Linked DNA regions of Homo sapiens: all the other regions are linked to region 3. Evidence: promoter capture Hi-C in human tissues and cell types (Jung and others, 2019). All regions are on one chromosome and are shown on one strand. Each heading gives the region's core, a stretch centred on a gene start or on the middle of the fragment in contact. The rest is flanking DNA. Distances are from core to core; before and after follow the strand shown. Region 1 holds the start of CDC42BPG (CDC42 binding protein kinase gamma). Region 2 overlaps MAJIN (membrane anchored junction protein). Region 3 holds the start of TIGD3 (tigger transposable element derived 3). Region 4 has its middle 2.6 kb from the start of MAJIN.

The links. The method cuts DNA at HindIII sites, captures the fragments that hold promoters and counts their contacts. A contact is called where the count stands out against the background at its distance.
Region 1: the fragment with the promoter of CDC42BPG here is called in contact with the fragment with the promoter of TIGD3 in region 3 in 1 of the 25 tissues and cell types used here (pancreas).
Region 2: a fragment that was not itself captured here is called in contact with the fragment with the promoter of TIGD3 in region 3 in 1 of the 25 tissues and cell types used here (dorsolateral prefrontal cortex).
Region 4: a contact is called between a fragment that was not itself captured here and the fragment with the promoter of TIGD3 in region 3, in 1 of the 25 tissues and cell types used here (heart right ventricle).

The regions. Positions count from the first base shown.
Region 1 is chr11:64,843,083-64,845,973 of GRCh38, forward strand. It overlaps CDC42BPG (CDC42 binding protein kinase gamma), which reads right to left and starts at 1,571. Exons shown (of 37, transcript NM_017525.3): 1 at 1,328-1,571. The coding sequence starts at 1,487. RefSeq lists enhancers at 1-209, 234-1,046 and silencers at 1,261-1,310, 1,341-1,390, 1,401-1,750. The HindIII fragment of the contact is 4,484 bases long and covers 938-2,891 here.
Region 2 is chr11:64,952,084-64,954,942 of GRCh38, forward strand. MAJIN (membrane anchored junction protein) reads right to left here. Exons shown (of 11, transcript NM_001037225.3): 4 at 2,674-2,719. Among named protein-coding and RNA genes, the nearest start is that of GPHA2, 18 kb to the left of the region's middle. The HindIII fragment of the contact is 9,200 bases long and covers 1-2,859 here.
Region 3 is chr11:65,353,488-65,356,187 of GRCh38, forward strand. TIGD3 (tigger transposable element derived 3) reads left to right here and starts at 1,264. Exons shown (of 2, transcript NM_145719.3): 1 at 1,264-1,470; 2 at 2,306-2,700. The coding sequence starts at 2,322. It overlaps DPF2 (double PHD fingers 2), which reads left to right. Exons shown (of 11, transcript NM_006268.5): 11 at 1-775. RefSeq lists silencers at 992-1,051, 1,142-1,461, 1,482-1,541, 1,552-1,721, 1,782-1,971. The HindIII fragment of the contact is 4,951 bases long and covers 1-2,700 here.
Region 4 is chr11:64,973,356-64,976,055 of GRCh38, forward strand. No RefSeq gene overlaps it. Among named protein-coding and RNA genes, the nearest start is that of MAJIN, 2.6 kb to the left of the region's middle. The HindIII fragment of the contact is 2,434 bases long and covers 157-2,590 here.

The sequences.
Region 1 (2,891 bases), core at 321-2,820, 510 kb before region 3:
GCCCAGGCCCACAGGCAGGAGGATCCAGGCCCCTGGACAGGCTGCCTAATCCTCTGGCCTCCCACAGGGCATGGGGGCTCCGGGCAGGAGCAGGGACAAGTAGAGACAAGCAGGAGAGGAATGAGTCACAGCCCTTTGAGTTACCTTGGGAGATTGTCAACAGAGGGCCCCCATGCCGGGGTCCCAGGCAGAGGTGCTGGAGGCAGTCAGGGAGGAGCACACATGTGTGTGCAAACACACACACGTGTGTGGGTGTCATGGGGGGGGTGACAACAACACAGGCAGACAGGCATAGCACGGAGGCATACCAGGGAGACAGGCACAGAGGCAGGGGCCTCTGACTGCCTCGCCCTGGATGGAAGGGTTGGGGCTAGGGGACAACTCCCTGGCACATCTAGGTGGCAGCCTCCCCCTCTACCCCAGGCCTTGTGCCTTCCCAGAGCTCAGGAGTGCCAGGAACGCTAGTTGCCCACTGGGCAAACACCTGCCTCACCCCGCCCTGGCCAGGCCCCCGTGCCTTTTCCCCATGGCCCGGCAGGGTGTGACCAGGGAACCCTCCAGCTGGCGCCAGTGCCCACAGTGGGTTCAGGGTCACCCCGGGCCAGCCACTCCCAATGACTCAGATGAGTCTACCAGGAAAGGTACAGACCCATCTCCAGCTAGGCCCCCCTCCCCGGCCCCGGCGCCACAGCCCCCAAGGAGCTTGGCCAGCAGCCTGCACAGGCCAAGGGTTGGAGATCGGTTCCTGAGTCCAGGCTGCAGTGGTCTTGTACCCAGGGAGCTGGGGGTGTGTGTGTTGGTGGGGGGAAGGTCTGCAAGTGTGCGATACCTACAGATCTGTGTGTTTTGCAGTGCCAATGCGGTCGGGGTGGTCTGCAGCGCTCCCTGGGTCTCTCCATGAGTTGTGTGTCTCAATGCATCCGAGAGGAAGGAGAAACAGAGCCCGTGTATCAGTGGGTGACATGCATGAGGGTCTGTGTGTGTCCTGCGTCAGGTGTGGCCTGTAAGCAAGGAAATCTGTAAGGGACTCTAGGCGGTGCACTGGGTACATGCGTCTGCGGTCGATACCTGAGCACAAGTTGGTATGTGTGTGCATGTGTCGGGGTCTGTGAGAGGGAGAGAGCGTGTGTGAGAATTGGAGTGAGGGTGAGGTGTGCAGGCGAGTGTGCGGGCCGCGGGGGTCCGGTGGTACGCGTCAGGGCCACTGCAGGGAGTCTGCGAGGGAAGCCCGTGGGGGTGCGGGTCCCTGCGGGAAAGTCTGCGGGTGCGGGGGTCTCGGCGCGATATCCCTAGGCCCGCCCCCGCTCCGTGCCGCCCCGCCACTCACCCCAGCTCAGGAACTGCGCCACGCTGCGCTCCCGCCGTAGGGGGCCGCTGCTGAGCTCGTGGTGCAGCGCCAGCAGCAGATCTAGGAGGCCGTCGAGCCCCGGGCAGCCGCCGGCCTCGCCCCGCGCCAGCTGCTCCAGCGCGCGCAGCCGCCGCTCCATGGCTGCGGCCGGAGCCTCGCTGCTCGGCTACAGTCTGGCCGCCCGCATGCCCGCCTGTCGGGCCGTCCGTCCGCCCAACCGTCTGAGGCTCTGTCCGCGCGTCCTCCCCCGCCCCTCTCCCGCCCTCCCCGCTGTCACCTTCCTCCGCCGCCGCCAGCGCGCCCTCACCTGGGCGCCGCGCCCCGCCCCCCGACGGACGGGCAGGTGCGCGCCGGCCAATGGGAGCCGCGGCTAGAGGTGAAGGTGGGGGCGGAGGCGCGCGGGGGCGGGCCCAACTCCCGGCCAGGAAGTGCGGGGGCGGGCCGGGGAGAACAACTGACTTCTGCGCGGGGCGCGGTGGGGTTCTGCGGGGTCGGAAAGACTCCCCAGATCCCCGCGCGGCCCCAGACCCAGACTTACCTGGGCCCTCCCTGGGCCCTGACCCAGGAGGCGCGGAGCACTGCAACTTCTCTCGCCCCCTGGGTCGCAGCCGCCTTGCCCTTGGCTAAGAGAGAGGGGCTAGGGACGCCCGCGGCCCCGGAGCCGGATGGGAATTGTAGTTCGCTCTCTCCATGGTTTGCCCGCGCTTGGCACCCATCGCCCCCCCGCCCCCGCCCAAAAAAAAGTTTCTGAATCTTACTTTGATTGTATCATTAGAGTTGATGTGGGAGACAGGAAGTTGGGGTAGGGATGGTCACGCCCATTTGGCAGATGGACACACTGAGGCTTGGGAAGGAGGAAGGCGAATTGAGGGGCTGAGGACAAGGTGGCTCTTAAGTTAGACCCTGGGGTGGAGGTGGAGCTGGGCTGGTACCAACACCACAGGCGTTTTAAGCTTCAGTAGGAGCAGGGCCTGAGGTCTGACCTGGAACGTGAAGGGCAAGGAGAGGTCTGAGATAGGCTGGAGGAGGTTGGGGAGGGGAGGGGCTGGCTCTGTCCAGTGGTATTTCTGATTTCTGTCCAGCTGGGATGGACCAGGCACCATGAGGAGAGATCAAAGGGTGGGACATATTGGTGGCTTCAGACAACACTTTTTTTTTTTTTTTTTTGAGACAGGGTCTCTCTGTCACCCATGCTGGAGTGCAGTGATGCAATCATAACTCACTGCAGCCTTGACCTCTTAGGCTCCTGCCTCAGCCTCTTGAGTAGCTGGGATTACAGGCAGATGCCACCACACCCAGCTGATTTTTTATTTTACTTTTTGGAGTCAAGGGTTATTGTTATGTTGACCAGGCTGGTCTCGAACTCCTGGGCTCAGGTAATCCTCCCACCTTGGCCTCCCGGAGTTCTGGGATTACAGACATGGGCAACTACACCCGGCCTAGACAACACTTCTTTCTCTTTTTTGAGACAGGGTCTCACTCTGTCCCCTAGGCTGGAGTGCAGTGGTGCAATCGTAGCTCACCACAGCCTCAACCTCCTGGG
Region 2 (2,859 bases), core at 235-2,734, 400 kb before region 3:
TCGCCATGTTGTCCAGGCAGGTCTCAAATCCCTGAGCTCAGGCAATCTGCCCACCTTGGCCTCCCAAAGTGCTAGGATTACAGGCATGAGCGACCACGCCCGGCCTTTTTTTTTGAGATGAAGTTTTGTTCTTCTTGCCCAGGCTGGAGTCTGGAGTGCAATGGCTTGGTCTCCGCTCACTGCAACCTCTGCCTCCAGGGTTCAAGCGATTCTCCTGCCTCAGCCTCCCAAGTAGCTGGGATTACAGGTGCCTGCCACCACACCTGGCTAACTTTTGTATTTTTGGTAGAGATGGGGTTTCACTATGTTGGCCAGGCTGGTCACAAACTCCTGACCTCAGGTGATCCACCCGCCTTGACCTCCCAAAGTGCTGGGATTACAGGCGTGAGCCACAGAGCCCGGCTGTGTTTTTATACATATTAATTAATTTAACTCTCACAAAAACCCTGTGAGGCAATTCTGTTATTCCCATTTTACAGACGGGGAAACAGACAAAGAGAGGTGAAAAAATGTAGTCTAGGTTACATAACTAGAAATAGCAGGGCCAAGATCTGAACCAAGGCAGCAGGGTTCCAGAGCTCCTAGTCTTAACCCCTAGGCTAGCCTGCTTCTCAGTAAATGTTTTCTTTTTTTGTTTTTGAGATGGAGTCTCACTCTGTTGCCCAGGCTGGAGTGCAGTGGTGCGATCTCGGCTCACTGCAACCTCCGCCTCCCAGGTTCAAGCAATTCTCCTGCCTCAGCCTCCTGAGTAGCTTGGACTACAGGTACGTGCCACCACACCCAGCTAATTTTTGTATTTTTAGTAGAGACGGGGTTTCGCCATGTTGGCCAGTCTGGTCTTAAACTCCTGACCTCAGGTGATCCACCTGCCTCGGCCTCCCAAAGTGCTGGGATTAAAGGTGTGAGCCACAGCGCCCAGCCTCAGTAAGTGTTTTCTAAATGAAGAAAAGAGAATGATAACATCTGACCCCAAACTAGTGAGCATAAGAGAAAGATGCATATGCATATCAAATGCACCTTGGAAATATGACATACGTTGAATGTAAATACTCTCGAGCTACTAATTATTGAGCTACTGTGTGGCAGGCATTGCAGACATCTATTTCTAATCCTCAGTCTTGAAACAGGCCTTCTTTATTAACCTCATTTGACAGGTAAGGAAACAGACTCAGGGAGGGTAGGTACTTTGCCCGAAGTCAAACTGTGAATGGCAGAACACTTCTCATAGTAATTACTCAATAAATATTAGCTATTATAATTAGAAGCTAGACACTATCCTAGTATGGAGACTTCAAATCCAGGTTTGACTGGCTCTAAAGTCTGTGTTCCCTCCTCTCTGTTATGCTTCCGTGAGCTTTTCACTGCTCAGGTTAACTGAAGCAAAGTGAAATAAAGCCTGCTCTGCTCATAATTAAAATAGGTAGAATGGCCGGGTGCAGTGGCTCACACCTGTAATCCCAACACTTTGGGAGGCCGAGGCTGGTGGATCACGAGGTCAAGAGATCGAGACCATCCTGGCCAACATGATGAAACCCCGTCTCTACTAAAAATACAAAAATTAGCTGGGCGTGGTGGTGCACATCGGTAGTCCCAGCTGCTTGGGAGGCTGAGGCAGGAGAATCGCTGGAACTTGGGAGATGGAGGTTGCAGTGAGCCAAAATCGTGCCACTGCACTCCAGCCTGGTGACAGAGCGAAACTCCATCTCAAAAAACAAACAAACAAACAAACAAAAAACCAGGTAGAACATTTTCTTGGTCCTATGTTAAAATAACTTATTCATAATGATATCCTTGAGGGTCCTGCAAGATCCTAATGTATCTTTTAACACTTAGCCAAAGAGGTACCTTCTTAAGGGTATGACTCAGTTTTGGTTTCACAGAGTTTTGTGTTTAAGTGTATTTAATTGCTTTGAAATGTGGAGGCATATGTCTTAAGAAATCACAATAGTCACAAATTACCGAATTGTGAAGTCAGAAGAGGAAAAGCTAGTTTAGACCTCTCATTTTCCAAATGAGGCAATTAAGATCCAAGTTGATATATGATTTGCCAACGGTCACACAGCTAAGTGGTGGCTATGCCAGGACTGGAATCCAGGGCCAACCCCCAGAACTCTAACTCCTTGTCCATTGCTTCCACCAATTTGTAAAGTTGATCACCTGCTCAGTCTTCTTCTGTAGGAAAACCTAAAGCTAGAGGAACCGGGTAGAAAGGAATGAAAATGAAGTCGGAATAAGGCAATTGCAAATGTTGCCAATTTAAATGAAGACACAGCAGCCTTGTCTGTGTATTTACAGTCGAGTTTCCTGAACGTCAAGTACCAGGCAGTGGTTGGGATGGTGAGGTTTCCCAGAGCCCTGGAAGGAGGCAGTCCTCCGGAATCTTTCTCTATGCCAGCTGCAACAAAAGAGAGCTGCCCAAGGCTGGAAACTGGTGAAAACAAAAAGCTCTCAGCCTCAAAGGTGCTGACATTTCAACTAGGAAAACTGAGAAAGAATACAGGCTTTAAATTCCCATGGAAAAACATAAAGTTCCTTTGCAAAGGAGATGTAGCAGGAGGAAGCCAAGTTATCAAGTGGAGGTTGTGACTCAGTTTGTAGGAAATAATTAAAACCTGAATGTGGATGCATCCTTAAAGAGTAACTTTTCCAGAAGTCGTATGCTTCTTTCCCTACCTCCAGCTCCTGGGTGATGACTTCCTTATTTTCTATCTCTTCTCCTCTAGAAGGTAAACAGACAAGAGACAAGTAAGACATGAAGGAAAGCTCTGGAGAGAGTAGACTCTACTAGGGCAAAAATAACACTTCCACTGAGCTAAAGAAACATGACATAAGTAAAACTGTGTAAGCTGACCCAGTGCT
Region 3 (2,700 bases), core at 14-2,513:
GGCCAGAGCAAGTGCTCTAGGATCTGAACTGCCCGCAGTGCAGCCCTGCAGCCTTTCCCAGGGCACGTTGATGTGCACACAGTTTCCCTGAAGGCAAAGTGAACATGTGGAGAGCTTACGTGGCAGCGCGTATGTCTTCAGTGTGTGTTTTAGAAGTCCAACTGTTGTTTTTATGTTTTTAAAGGAAAGATTTGAATCAAGCAGTTATGGGCCCCCTGAAGTATCCTTTTTTCTAGAACATTCTGAAAGTCATCCTTGCCTATGGGAAGCCTAGGCCGGCCTGCACTGTTATGTTCAATAAATAAGCAGGGTGCTCTGGGCTGGGGATTGTGTGAGGAGCAGAGCGCAGCCCGTCCTCATGCTTTTCCACTGAAGTAGGCCAGGCAGAGAGGGAGTACAGCAATGGATGCGCTTTGGCAGCTGAGTAGTCCGAGAGCCAGAAAAGAAATGTGGAAAATAAGAACGCTGTAGCAGGCCTAGGTGAGGAAATTTAGGAAGGGTTTGCGGGAGGTAGGATTTGAGATGGGTCTTGGAGAGTTGGACAGTGTCAGCCGGTAGGACGGGGGTGCGGACGGAAGCCTGTGAGGAAGGCAGAGGATGCGGAGCTGTGAGCGGAGGGAGCAGCGAGGCTGGAGAGCAGCTGGGCTGCGGGTCAAGACGTCTGCGTTTAATTCGGGACTGAAGGTTAGCAGGGAAGGGAACGATGCCAGATCTTGAGTTTAAGAACTTGAATCTTGTAAAGTACCAAATCTAATAAAATACTCGTCCTAAATCATTACTGGCCCAAGCATGCAGTGTTTCCGTGGCCGACAGACTCGAGCCAGCGCTGTCCATGGTAACCAGCTTTTGTGTGGCTTAAAGCTTGCATCCATTTTCTCCTTTCATCGTTTTCCCAAAACAATTCCGTGAGGGCTGTTAGCCCTGCTTGGTAGACGAAGAAGCCGATGCGGTCTAGGGTCACGGCCAGGGAGGCTTTGGGACGCCAAGTCAGCTCGGCGGTCACCACACCACCTACAGGGCTCGTCGGGCCCTCGGGGTCGGCGGCTGCTGGAGGCGCCCAGGGGAGTCCTGCTGGTTCCTGGCTCCGCCTCCCGCCCCTCCGCGCTAGAAGCCCCGCCCCCAGAGGGGCTCGACGAACCGCCACTTCCGCAACGTCCAATGAAACTTAGCCGGGGGAGGGACGGGGCGCCACTGAGGACCAATCTGCTTGGGCCGGGGCGGGGCTGCGGCGGGTGGGTGCAGAGGGGCCGCACCGCGGACTTCGCAGCCGGGAGAGAGCCCGGCGCGGGCGGCGCGCACGGGACTCTGCTGTGCGCGCGCCCGCCCGCCCGCCGTCCGCGCAGGCCCTCGGTCCGCTCTGCCCTCGGGGTCGTGGCGCCCATCCCTCCCCTGTTCTGCTGTCGCCGCCCGGACAGGGGCTCGGGAGCCGGGCTGGGGGCAGGGGCTGGAGCCGCGGGACCAGCGCCTGAGGTGGGTGCGGAGCGGGAGGCCGGGCGGGCGGGCGCCTGGGGCCGCCCCGCCGACATACTCCGGGTCGAGGGGGAGTGACCGGCCAGGGCACGGAGTCCGGCTGCCGGCCTGCCTGGGTCCGGGCGTTCGTTCCCGCGCCCTGGGACCCTCCCAGGCCACCACCCTCCCCGCGGGGACACCCCGCCCCTCCGCTGCCCGCAGCCTCCTCAGGCCTCCCGCCCTTTGTCGCTCGTGCACCTGCGCCCTCGGCCCTGCCCTCTCGCTCCCCTCAGGACTGACCGTCGCCTAGCCTCCCTCTCAGGACCCGGCACCAAATTAGCCTCGCTCCTTCAGACACCCTCTGTCCCCTTTGTCGTCTGTACACCTGTCACCTCAACTCTGTGTGCATCCACCCACCTCCCACCCCCCAGCGGCGTCATCTGAATCCAGCCCAAGCCGCCTCCCACTCCCTCCCGGGGGCTCCTCCCCCGCAGCCCCGTAGCCCCACACCTGCCCCCTCGGCCCCAGTCCCAGGCCCTCCCCCGTCCGTATGCCTTTGTTATCTCTGCAGCTGTCCCCTGCACTTTTCATCCTTCTTCCCGAGTGAGGCCAGACCCCAGCCCAGACTCCCCTGTCCTTCTGAGTGGAGAGACGCCCCCTCCCCAGCTCTGCCCTGGCATCCTGGGGACGGGGCCAGCCGGCTTCCACTCGGCCTAGCCACTTCCTCTTTCAGCGGGTCCAGTCTCACCCGGTGCCTGCGCAAGTCCTCATCTAATCTCTTTTCCCTCCTGCGCTCCTTTCCTAGCTCTTCCGGCCTCAGATTACTCTACCCGCTCAATCTTTCCTCCCCGCACAGGTGCCCCGGAGAGGCCATGGAGCTGAGCAGCAAGAAGAAGCTTCACGCCCTGTCCCTGGCCGAGAAGATCCAGGTGCTGGAACTCCTGGATGAGTCCAAGATGTCCCAGTCGGAGGTGGCCCGGCGCTTCCAGGTTTCCCAGCCCCAGATCTCGCGCATCTGCAAGAATAAGGAGAAGCTGCTGGCGGACTGGTGCAGCGGCACAGCCAACCGAGAGCGCAAGCGCAAGCGGGAGTCCAAGTACAGCGGGATCGACGAGGCTCTGCTCTGCTGGTACCACATTGCCCGGGCCAAGGCCTGGGACGTGACGGGGCCCATGCTGCTCCACAAAGCCAAGGAGCTGGCCGATATCATGGGCCAGGACTTCGTGCCCAGCATCGGCTGGCTGGTCCGCT
Region 4 (2,700 bases), core at 124-2,623, 380 kb before region 3:
TGAGGCAGGAGAATTGCTTGAACCTGGGAGGCAGAGGTTGCAGTGAGCTGAGATCACTCCAGTGCACTCCAGCCTGGGCTACAGAGTGAGGCTCCATCTCAAAAAAAAAAAAAGAAAGAAAGAAACTGCGAAGCAGTTTTCCAGAGTGGCTGTACCATTCTGCACTCCCGTCAGCAGAGTGTGAGAATTGCTCTGCATCCTTGCCAGCACTTGATATTTTCAGTTAAAAATTTTTTGCCATCCTAATAGATGTGTAGTGGTATCTAGTTATAGATTTAATTTGCATTTCCCTAACGACTAATAACGTTGAGCACCTTTTTATGGGCCCTTGGGATTCTTGAGAATTAATAAACCTATACCCTAACTCAGAAACAATTTACAGTGCTAAAGAGACTCGTATGGATTCAGACTTAGCCTGCCATACTGGAACATTTCAACAGCAACGCTCGCAGATGACAACAGAATTCAAAGCACATATACCAGATCTGTCAAGCCAGCCAGCACATGGCAAAAGCCTGGCAACAAAAAATAGCATGCTGTGTGTGTGTCTGTCTCCAAGAAGTTCAGTGTTACTTAACTATAAGAAACAGGTGGCCGTGTGCAGTGGCTCACACCTGTAATCCCAGCACTTTGGGAGGCGGAGGCGGGCAGATCACCTGAGGTCAGGAGTTTGAGACCAGCCTGGCCAACATGGTGAGACCCTGTCTCTACTAAAACAAACAAAAAACACACCACAAAATCAGCCAGGCAAGGTGGCATGCACCTTAATCCCAGCTACTTGGAGGCTGAGGCAGGAGAATCACTTGAAATCGGGGGGTGGAGGTTGCAGTGAGCTGAGACTGCACCATTGCACTCCAGCCCGGGCAAAAAATGTGAAACTTCATCTCAAAAAAAAAAAAAAAAAAAGAAAGAAAGAAAGAAAAGAAAAAGAAAGAAACAGGTGTGGAGTGGCAGGAGATATGGTTGAGGGGAGACACAGGGGCTAGACTACGAAGAAGCTTGTGCTGAGGTACTTGAGGTACTTGAATTTATCCCTACAGCAATAAGATGCTCTTAAAAGTTGGATTTTGGTCTCAGAAATATGTTCCTGAGGCCAGGCGTGATGGTTCACACCTGTAATCCCAACACGTTGGGAGACAGGAGGATCTCTTGAGGCCAGGAGTTCAAGACTCGCCTGGGCAACATAGTAAGACTCCATCTCCACAAAAAAATAAAAAAAATAGCCAGACATAGAAGTGCATGCCTGTATTCCCAGTTACTCAGGAGGCTGAGGGGGAGGATTGCTTGAGCCCAGGGGTCCAAGGCTGCAGTGAGCTGTGATCATGCCACTGCAGTCTGGCCTGGGGGACACATCGAGTCCCCCCGCAAAAAAAAAGTTCCTGGAACCTGGCTTCTTCATTTTCATTTTCATTTTCATTTTCTGCCTGCTTATTCTTACTTATCCTTCAAGGCCCAGCCCAAATGCCACCTCCTCTGAGAAGCCCTCTGTAATCCCCCTAGCCAGAAGATCAGGTCCCTTTTTTTTTTTTGCCTTTCCTTGTATTGACTGGCCAGTCTGCTTGGAGGGTGGGAACTGCAATTTACACCACTTTGGGCTTTTTTTTTTTTTTTTTTTTTTTGAGACGGAGTCTCCCTCTGTCGCCCAGGCTGGAGTGCAGCGGTGCGATCACGGCTCACTGCAAGCTCTGCCTCCCGGGTTCACGCCATTCTCCTGCCTCAGCCTCCTGAGTAGCTGGGACTACAGGCATCCACCACGACACCTGGCTAATTTTTTGTATTTTTAGTAGAGACGGGGTTTCACCGTGTTAGCCAGGATGGTCTCGATCTCCTGACCTCGTGATCTGCCCGCCTTGGCCTCCTGAAGTAGTGGGATTACAGGTGTGAGGCACCGCACCCGGCCACTTTGGGCTTCTTATGTGGCTTGACAAGGGATCTAGCACATAGAAGGTGCTAACCCATGTTTGATGAATGTTGATGAATTTTCAAATGAAGGAAGTTTACTGGGCAATCCAGCTCTGGAGTCCTGTCAGATTACACCAGTATTAGTTCTCAAACGTGGGCATGCATCAGAACTACCTAGAGGGCTTGTAGATTGCTGGACCGAGCCCCCAAGTTTCTGATTTAGTAGATCTGGGGGTCTGAGAATTTGCCTTTTGAACAAGTAAGTTCCCAGGTGCTGCTGCTGCTGGTAGAAGGGACCATACTCAGATAAACTTTGGATGAAACATTCTTTACATGTGGCTGTGGGTATAGTTCAAGTGCTTCTGAGAATCAAGCTCTGGCGGGGACACTCTCAAGGGACCATGAATCCTGTGCTTTATCACAACCATCTGACCACCTGACCCTTCAAGGGATGTCCTTGGTCTTGACTACTGTCCCACTCCTTTGACTTGGAGGCAGGATTACTTTACCCTCTCCTGGTCCCTTTATTTATTTTAATTAATTTATTTATTTTTGAGACAGAGTGTCGTTCCAGTGTCGCCCAGGCTGGAGTGCAATGGCACGATCTCGGCTCACTGCACCCTCTGCCTCCTGGGTTCAAGCAACTCTCCTGCCTCAGCCTCCCAAGTAGCTGAGATTACAGGTACCCACCACCAGGCCTATCTAATTTTTTTTGTATTTTTAGTAGAGATGGGGTTTTGCCGTGTTGGCCAGGCTGGTCTTTAACTCCTGACCTTTGGTGATCCACCCACCTCGGCC